Regions from separate parts of the Homo sapiens genome. Here region 1 is linked to region 2. The links are contacts of gene promoters, found by promoter capture Hi-C in human tissues and cell types (Jung and others, 2019). All regions are on one chromosome and are shown on one strand. Each heading gives the region's core, a stretch centred on a gene start or on the middle of the fragment in contact. The rest is flanking DNA. Distances are from core to core; before and after follow the strand shown.

Evidence for each region. Contacts are between HindIII fragments. The study calls those that stand out against the background at their distance.
Region 1: a fragment that was not itself captured here is called in contact with the fragment with the promoter of CPA2 in region 2 in 1 of the 25 tissues and cell types used here (dorsolateral prefrontal cortex).

What each region holds. Positions count from the first base shown.
Region 1 is chr7:130,412,941-130,417,802 of GRCh38, reverse strand. It overlaps CEP41 (centrosomal protein 41), which reads left to right. Exons shown (of 11, transcript NM_018718.3): 3 at 837-884. Among named protein-coding and RNA genes, the nearest start is that of CEP41, 26 kb to the left of the region's middle. The HindIII fragment of the contact is 3,284 bases long and covers 1-3,261 here.
Region 2 is chr7:130,264,936-130,269,798 of GRCh38, reverse strand. It overlaps CPA2 (carboxypeptidase A2), which reads right to left and starts at 2,936. Exons shown (of 11, transcript NM_001869.3): 1 at 2,847-2,936; 2 at 789-870; 3 at 1-130. The coding sequence starts at 2,917. The HindIII fragment of the contact is 6,290 bases long and covers 1-4,718 here.

The DNA.
Region 1 (4,862 bases), core at 370-2,869, 150 kb before region 2:
TTGAATGTTTTCCTTTTGCCATACCTTTTAGGTGACAGAAAGAGCTTCCTGCGTTGAATTGAATCAAATCGAAGCATACCCAGTAAAATATAATAGCCCCTGGCTTGACAGCTAGAATTGAGTTGGAAACCAGAAGGTTCCTGGCTGAGTTTTTTAAGTCTGAAAACCTCCAAACCACCTTGGCCAGTACTAGTATTATAGAAACATACTATAAAACATGAGGGCTGGGGCCTCTCTGCAGTTTCAAGAATCTGCTGTTATTTCTCAGCACATCAAATCTATGGTGAATACTAGTGTGTAGACTGTGTAGTCTAGTTCAGACTGCAACGTGAGCATGAACGGTAGAAGAGTAAGTTCAGGAAAGAGAAGGAAACTGTGAAGACAAAGCCGAGAGGAGAGAGTTGCTTGGGTAACCACAAAGGCACATTTTAGACACTCAAAGAACACTGCCTCCTTTTTGCTCCTCTTCTGTGTATCTTCCCCACAAAAAGATCGTCAGCGGGGGCAGGGGAGATAAAAGGAGGAGGAAAGCCTAGACTTGAAAAACAAACTGATAGAAAATGATCATCTGTATCTCCTGGAACTTGTCAATGTTTTGGGGGTATGCATCCCAGCTTAAACACATTCTACCAAAACATTTCCCTCGGCTCTGCAACTTTTAATAACGCTGTATTATCCAAAAGATTTTACTGTGTGTGGCCTGTTTGCTGCTGTCCAGAATCCCCTAAGAACAGGATAGGAAAGCTTAGGGGATACTTTTCCTCCATTCTGTTTCCACAGTGTTACTCATTTGCTTCCATTTAAAGTATATCTAAAACCCCTTATTTTCTTTTTAGGTAACAGTATGACTAAATATACTGAGAAGCTCGAAGAGATTAAGAAAAGTAAGTAACACTCTTGATGGTTTGGGAGAGTGGAAGTCTATAGTTGTTCTATAAATTGGTTCTTAACTAACAATTGTGTTCCACAGGTGACAGGCACAGAGAGCTATGGATGGTCCGATAAGCCTAGCAGGTGCCTCAAGGGCTGTGGGAGATCCTGGGTGCTGTACTGGGCTGCTTCTCAGATTGTGGCCTGTAGGCCTAAATTCTGCCCTATTTCCATCCCATAGGAGACATTAGTGTTGGCCTGCAGAGTCAGATCTGGTGGAATGAGCTCTGCTTAAGCTTCTAGTGTCATTGTACTGCAGTCTTCATGCCCTTCTTCAAGATATTTCATCTTTTCTGTCTTATTTTGTCTCTATTTGAGATAGGGGGTAATAATATCTTCCTTCAGAACATTCTTGTGTGTATAAATGAGAGTATTCATGGAAGACAGGGACGTGAGAACTTAGTGTTATGCATTATCAATTCATTGCAGTCTGTTTTCTTTTAATTAAAAATCATATTTCATCTACATCCTTTTAAAAAACTTATCTGCAAAGATATGTTACCAGTCATTGAGTGCATTGCCCTTGCACAAAATCATAATTTTTCAGTCTGCATCCAAAACTGATGTAAAGTGTATACTTCAAGGCCAGAATTAAGGAAGAAGTAGAAACATCTATTTTCTAAGATGGATTTGCTCATATCTTGAATAAGAGAACCCAGTGCTAGGGGATATTTAGTTAATGGTGGTAAAGAGGTACTCTGATTAATCATAGTTCAGGACTTGGCTCTGGTAATGTACATCTTCTTGGAAGATAAAATTGCACATCCAGAATACATCAGAACATTTTCTTCTTTTACACAGCAGACCTTTTATTTGAAATCAAAGTTCCATTTGAATTGCTGCAATATTGGGAAACCCCAACCAATAGATGTGGACTCAGGAGCTGCTTTATGCTGTGTTTTCATTTGCCATGTTCAGCTATAAGGGCTAATGCTACAAACTTCTTAAAAATATGTAATGCCACAGTATCCTTCTCTTTTCTTCCTGAACATTTTATATTACATAAGTATATGTATTTTAAATATCTATATAAAATATATACTTTTAAACTCTGGAGAAAGATCGCATTTACTCACCTACACTTCATTGTTGCCATCCTTGACTCATCCAAGACAGGCAGAATCCAGCTGGCCTGCTTCTTTTTGGGTTTGTCGTCTCTGTCACCTCTCATCCATTTGCAGCTGAGTGTGAGTTCACATGTCCTCACTAGAAATTTGTCCCATAAAAATGTCCCACTCTGCCCAGGTTGCCATAACCTCACTTAAAACATTTCTTCAAAGTACGATGTGGTTTCTTTAATATCTAAACCTTACGTGGAGGTGATCTCCCAGAACAATACCCTTGGAACAGAACCTTGAAAAATGCTTGCTTCACTTTCCCTCTGTAGGAGTGGAGGGCTTCCTTTTAGTAGAGCAGGAGATTCCTGTTACCCCATTTCACACACTTTGTGCTGATTCCCTGACAGAATTGCTTTAGATTCTGGTTTGGCATCTACATTTTAGAAGATATTTCCTTCTCTTTCCCCATTTTCTGTTGTAAGTATTATTTGGGGTTGAAAGGGAGGAGAATATTCCCTTGTTTCTTGATACCCTAGACCCATCACTTTACTCAGATTACCTTAGATGCCATTTCTTTCTGTGAAACCACAAACCTTGTTCTGTTACTTCCTTTGATTTGTCTTCCACTGTGAACCCAACTTCCCTTTGCTAATAATGCATTTCAACAGAACCCTGAAAATGCAGAAATCCTTTGTAATCTGAATATTCTTTCAACTCTACCTGGGGAAAATAGACACTCTATGTCTATTGACAATTTACAAAGCCCATTCTTGGTTTCTGGTGGTTAGATGACACTAGTTGGACCCAGTGTGAAACATCCTAGATAGTCAGGTCTCTGTCCTTCCAGTAACTCGAGAGAGACAGACTTAGAACCTAGACTTACTGGAGAAGCACACCTTGATAACATATCTGAAACTAGGATTGTCTTCAACACAGAGTTTGGGAGAAGACACATAGCAGAAGCTCCATTCTTAAAGCTCTGTTCGCTCTTGCGAGGACAGACTGACAGAGCCTTCCAAGTCATCCTTTTTATAAAAATTTAAACTTACTGTAGAACATCTAGTTTGATCTTTTATCTCTGAGTAATCATGTCAAAAAGTCCTACTGACGGCTGTCCTTCTAAACCAGAACCAGGTACGTGGAGTTCAGGTTCAAATATGTAGGGGGCTGCTAGTGCTTGTGCAGAAGACAGTAGAAATCCCAATCTTTAGAATAAAGCAGTCTTTTTTTTGTTTGTTTAAATTAATCTTTGTTTAGTTAAAGGAGATTTTAAAGTATACATTTTATGCTTAGAAGCATTTTAAACCTTGTAACCATACCAAAAGAATATCAGTGGATAAATGTCACAGTGCAAACTACTTGAAAGCTGTTGGCTGTTTCCATTTGCTGATTTATTGTTGTTTTGATTTGCATAAACGACTTTTGGTGGGCAAGTTGGTGGCAATCAAAAGGAACACTGTAGTTATTTGGTTGTACTTTGTAAAGCCTCAGCTCGGCCTATTTGGGTCTGCATCCCGGCAGGTTTTAGAAGTTCCACTGCATATAGGTTTGTTACCTTGTTGTATCCAGAAGCAGCATCTCTAAGCATTTCCTAGAAGTAATGGTCTGTTATTAGCCAAATTGCTCTCTTTAAGACATTTTAGAACAGAGAAGTTTAATTCCCTATTTTTAAAAAGCCTTGATATATTTACAGAAGGCTAGTTTTTAAAGTAGTATCATTTCCCGACTCTGAGTCTTAAGGTCTGTGCTGGTTTTTGGAAAATTCATGAAAGTGATTAGTTACACCAGGTAAATAATCTTAAATACTTTTAATCCTTTCCTTTGTTGCTAGGAGTCTTGGTTTATGAGACATTTATGCTGTGAAGGCCATAGCAATTAACCAGCTAACCTTTAATAATTCTGAAATAATGAGGCAGCAGTTAAAGAGTCATGGGTACCAATATAAAAACCTAGGTGAGGAGGAAAGCATGAGGGCGGGCAGAGTTCAACACTGAAAACCATTCAGAATTTGACTGTCATCTTCAAAACAGTTTAAGGAAGCTAACCTTTAACACGTATCTATGGAACAGATAATAGATAAAGTGCAACTGGCTTAGTTTTTAATAACTGTTTAATGTGATGGGAAGAATTATGAACACAAGTGCAGAAGTACCTATATGTGAGTTATAGCTCAGAATTGTCAAGACAGCACTGAATAAATATTGATGTTTTAAGTTTTTTTTTTGTTTTTTTTTTTGTGACACAGTTTCACTCTCACCCAGGCTGGAATGTGGTAGTGCAATCTTGGCTCACTGCAATCTCCACCTCCCAGGTTCAATTGATTCTCATGCCTCAGCCTCTGGAGTAGTTGGGATTACAGGTGTGCACCACCATGCCCAACTAATTTTTGTATTATTAGTTGGGATTTGTATTATTAGTTGTATTTTGTATTATTAGTTGTATTATTAATTGGAGTGTTGGGATTACAGGCATGAGCCACCAAACCTGGCCTAAGTTGGTTTTATTTTATTTTTTTAAATGGTGGGGCCGGACGCTTTGGCTCACGCCTGTAATCCCAGCACTTTGGGAGGTTGAGGTGGGTGGATCACTTGAGGCCAGGAGCTCGAAACCAGCCTGGCCAACATGGTGAAACCCCGTCTCTACTAAAATACACAAATTAGCCAGGCCTGGTGGTGGGCAACTGTAATCCCAGCTACTCGGGAGGCTGAAGCAGGAGAATCCCTCGAACCTGAGAGGCGGAGGTGGCAGAGAGCCGAGATCACACCACTGCACTCCAGCCTGGGCGACAGAGAAATAAAAATAAATAAAATAAAATGGTAGTAAACAACAAAAACAAGAACACATAACACCTACCATCGTAATGGTTTTTAAGTG
Region 2 (4,863 bases), core at 1,687-4,186:
CGTCTTCAATCATGATGGAATAGGCAATTCCCTGGGACTCCAAGAACACTTTGACTGCCTGGACGTTGACGAAGGGAACTCGGACGTGGGCTGTCTCCCCTGGGGTGGTGGGTGATTTCCAAAAATCAAGCTGAAAGGGATAAAAGTCCAAGCCAAGGAAATGAATGGGCTGTTCTGGGGAATGGACAGTTCAGCACTGATAGATTTCTAGGAATCAATTTGCATCCACTTTATCTTGAGCCCACAAGTTTTGGAATCATTGTGGAATCACTATGATATTGCAACAAGGGCTTTTAAATATCCATGTGTCAGCAAATCCATTATATTGTTTCCCCTGCCCCTATGGCTAGATATTAAAACTGGCAGAAGGAAAAGATTATTAAAACGATGGCAGTTTTTTTAAGCTGGGATTCTAGCAATCCAATTCATTTAATAATGGGATATAAATGCTATAAATTATTTTATAAGGGAAATATGCACTAAAGGTGTTTAATTTTTGAAAGTAACTTTCACATTTGATATCTCTTCTCATTCTTACAATAAACCTGAGAGATAGAAGAACGGCATATTTATCGCCATTACTCTGAGTGAGAAAATGAGACACAGGGAAGGTAGGTGGCTTGCCCAATGTCCTGTAGTTGGGACTAGAGCCCAGGTTTTCAGAACCCCAGCTGCATGAGTTAGCATTTCACACTATGTCATGGGAGTCAGAATACAGTCGAAAATAGAGCTCAATCATGTTTAACTGTATTCATTCTGGGAACAGCAACTCCCACTAGATCAAATACCTGGAGATGTTCTTGAGCCTCCAATTGTAGCAGATTTTTAATTTGTTCTTCATTGCTTGGTACAATCTCAAGAACTTGGTCTCTAAAGAAAATTAACCACAAATATGACCTTAAAAGCAAAACCTGGACACTGTTTCCTGTTGCTTTCTGCACCTGTTAGTCTCTGCGTATAACAGATTAATGCAACAGTCAATAATCTCTGTGACAATCCAGAAACTAATAAATAGTATACTAAACCCACATCGCCAGAATGAGAAGGTGATAGAATGGCGTTATTTCCTCCCAGGAAATGTTATCTAAATAATAATGAATAGGTGTACCTGCTCCTAGCAGGAAGCCTGCCATTAAAGTTACCTTTCCCATAGCTAATGAGTCAAATAAAACCTGCTGCTTGTGGAGTGTTATAGCTTTTAATACTTGCCTGTTCCTGTTGTTCAGAAGTAAGTTTTTAAAAAGTGGAATAATTTGGTGCTTGTAAGAGGAAACAATTCATATGTGGGTAGTCCTAAGATTTTGTTTTTAATGGTTTTGGGGGTTTTGTTTGTTCTTTGATTTTGTCAACTGAAAATGTATCAAGGTTCCATCCCCAGACCCCATTCATGGGGCCCAAACATGGGGCATGGCCAGAGATAGTTGGGACCCTGACAAATTATGTGCCGTGCCTCTCTTTACAAACACACACACACACACACACACACACACACACACACACACCCCCTTAATAGGGAATGAAGGATGAACAGGAAAGAGAAATCTCAAAACAATCAAGCACATCTCTTTAGGAAGAGTTCCCTTGGTGACAGAGTTTCCCCTTCTAGCCTTTCTCCACGTAGGCAGACTTCCTAAGTCACTGCCCCAACTGTTTGTGCAGTGGGGAAGGAATCAATACAATGAGCCATGTACAGGGACCAGAATATGGGTCTTCTGAAACCAAGCTCCATGCAATTTCCTACGAACTCCAGTGGAATACAGAAGTGATGGAATGTGAGCTCTTCGAGGCTCACCTGCCACAAATGGTCTGAAAATTCTTCCATTTAAGTCTCATTATTTTCGGTTAATGCATGGACTCCCAGGAGTCCTCCTTTAAAATGGGAAGGCACTGAGAAAAGTAATACAACAGGGTCATATTTCCTGGTGTGTGTTCTAAAGAATAGTAGTTCTTTGAGTTACTCAGTGAAAGAAAGAAAGAAAGAAAGAAAGAAAGAAAGAAAGAAAGAAAGAAAGAAAGAAAGAAAGAGAAAGAAAGAAAGAAAGAGAAAGAGAAAGAAAGAAAGGGCAAGCTGGGAGCAGTAGGTAGTTTATGATTAAAAAAAAGAGTACATGCTGCAACCTAGATCCCCTCTTATAGATTTATAATGCACACTGATTTAGCCAAGGCTCCTAGAAATCCTATAGTTTGTTTAATCCTCTGATTCCCACATTTATTTGACCAGTGGCTTTTTGGGACCAAACTTATTTGATTGCTTTCTTAGCTCCCTGGACCACTCTTCAAAAAATGCTGCCTGAAACCCTTCATAGAATCATGAAGCAAAGTACTTTGGAGCAAAGATGAGTCCTCCAAAGCCAGGAGAGGAGGAGTTGAGCTGAAATCTATAGCCCTGGCCTTTCTACTTCATGAGGTTCCACCACCTAGGTGCTGAATCTAAAGATCGGGGGTTAGGGCACAAGGGCTAACGTGGATGGTAAAGCCCAGAAGAGCAGGAGGAGGTGGGAGAGTAGCATTGACACCCGCTGAGTTGCCTGGAACAAATGGCCACACAGCTGTATTTTCCCTGATGTCTATCATCCCTACAGTCTGATCACTGGAGGGAAAAATGAGTAAGGACAGAGAGAAATAGGGTTATGTGTGTTCAGTTTTCACTTTTGTCTTTTCCTTTAAATGTCATTCACCTCCTTTTTGATCATCCACTCCTTTTTTTCACACTATTGACTTATCCCCAAATCTAAGAGAACTTCTCTGAAAACACTGAACACTTATACCCATTTACTCTGTAACAATCAAAGCCTCCATCAATCAGGTAAGTAAAATTCAAAGAAGCACCAGAAAGCATAACTTACCCCACAAATGTTTCTAGACAGTAGATATGCCCAAAAAGGGCACCAAAAAACAGGATCAACCTCATGGCCATGGGTTTTCCTGGAGTCCAGAATTCAGAGTCCTTCCTGAACTTTATTTGTAGGGATGGCAGCTGAGGGTGATCTGCTGGCCTTCTGAGAACTCACGTGAATTCCCACATGGGAAAATTCCCACCTGCATGTGAAATTCTCAAGGTTGTAGACATCCACCTGTGTGATATCACCAATGTGTACATGTTCCATTCCTAGGATAAGATAACAAACTTTGATGGAAAGAGAACAAAATTGCTAGAGCATACCAAGGGCAATATAGTTATGATTGAGACCATAAAACGCCACTAGCTACCCTGTGATAGAAGCCAGATTAATAGACCTAGAGGTTAAAGTCTTTTCTGGGTCTCTGACACACACACAAAAAAAAGGCCAGAGCATTTATAGTAATTACTCAGGCATCCTGTCTATCACATTCCATTAGTTTGCTCATTTGTTTATTTTTATAATGTTTACCTTGAAACACTGCAGTCACTCAGTCCACATCTGCTGAGTGTCCCTGTAGATGTGGCCCATTCCAATCCTCACTCTACATTAAAACAAAACAGAAGGCCTTTTAATATTCAATTTTGCACTTTCTCGAAAGTGATCCATCTGCATTTGCACCAAATTGATATCCCTCTTTCTGTGCTTTTTCCCAAAATGAAAATGTCTTTCTGATGACATTTCCTATAACAAGCAACAATGAAGTTGCTTGTTATAAAAAGTGTGAATTAAAAGAAAGTGTTTTCTTTAACCATCAATAATTCTTCCATCCAAAGAAAACCATTTGGCATATGTCTTTCCAAATTTCTTTCTCTGCTTTCGAGTTTTTTTCTTAAACAAAGATTAGACCATATCACGTATACTGTTCTTTAAACAAAGGTGATCTTTTCTTGTTCATAAACATAGATCTACATTAATCTGACTTTGTTCTTCATTGCTTAAGAAGAAAATATAACTGCTTATTTTTAGAAACCATAGTTTATTTAATTTTAGTTGTTCATACACGTTATATTAAGCCTAGAAAGCCTCAACCACAACAAGCAGCAAGGAAATTTTCGTCTGTCCTTTGTGTGTCAAATTTATCAGCACACACTTTAAATCTCTGGGTTTGCATTCTCAAATATCTGCTTTAAGGGGAAAGGTATATACACAGTGTTTCTGATTTTAAGAATGACTGGATTAACTTGGTTTTTCATTCTCCTGGGAGTCAGAGAGAAGACAGAAACCAAAAGGCAGAGGCCATAATTCATCCTCATGTCTCCAGCACCTATCAAATAAACAGTAGTTCAATAAACTGGAAGTATGTACTTGGAGAATCAATAAAAGCTTCCTGGAAAAAATCAAGTTTCAGGCTGGGCTCAGTGGCTCACGCCTGTAATCCCAGCACTTTGGGAGGCCAAGGCAGGTGGATCACGAGGTCAGGAGATCGAGACCATCCTGGCTAGCATGGTGAAACTCCGTCTCTACTAAAAATACAAAAAGTTAGCCGGGTGTGGTGGCGGGAGCCTGTAGTCCCAGCTACTCAGGAGGCTGAGGCAGGAGAATGGTGTGAACCCGGGAGGCAGAGCTTGCAGTGAGCCCAGATGGCACCACTGCGCTCCAGCCTAGGCAACAGAGTGAGACTCCGTCTCAAAAAAAAAAAAAAAAAAATGGAGTTTGAGCTGAGCCTTTGTGCCAAGGCAAATGTGAAAAGAGCCTGGATTTCTGGTGGTAAGAAAATATAAGCTAGACAGGGAACCAGGGGAGAGCACATGATACACAGCTGGGTTAAGGAGGAAACTTAGCCTAGCAGAGCAGAGACTTGAACCTGGGAGTGGTGGGGAAGGTAAAATACCAGAAGGTGGGCTAGAGGGCAAAGGATCTCACAATCCAAACAGAGGAGTACACACCAGATGATATGGAGAGCCTTGGAAGGTTTCTAAGCAGGTAACTGATTGATGAGGGCAATGCTGAAAATGGTGAA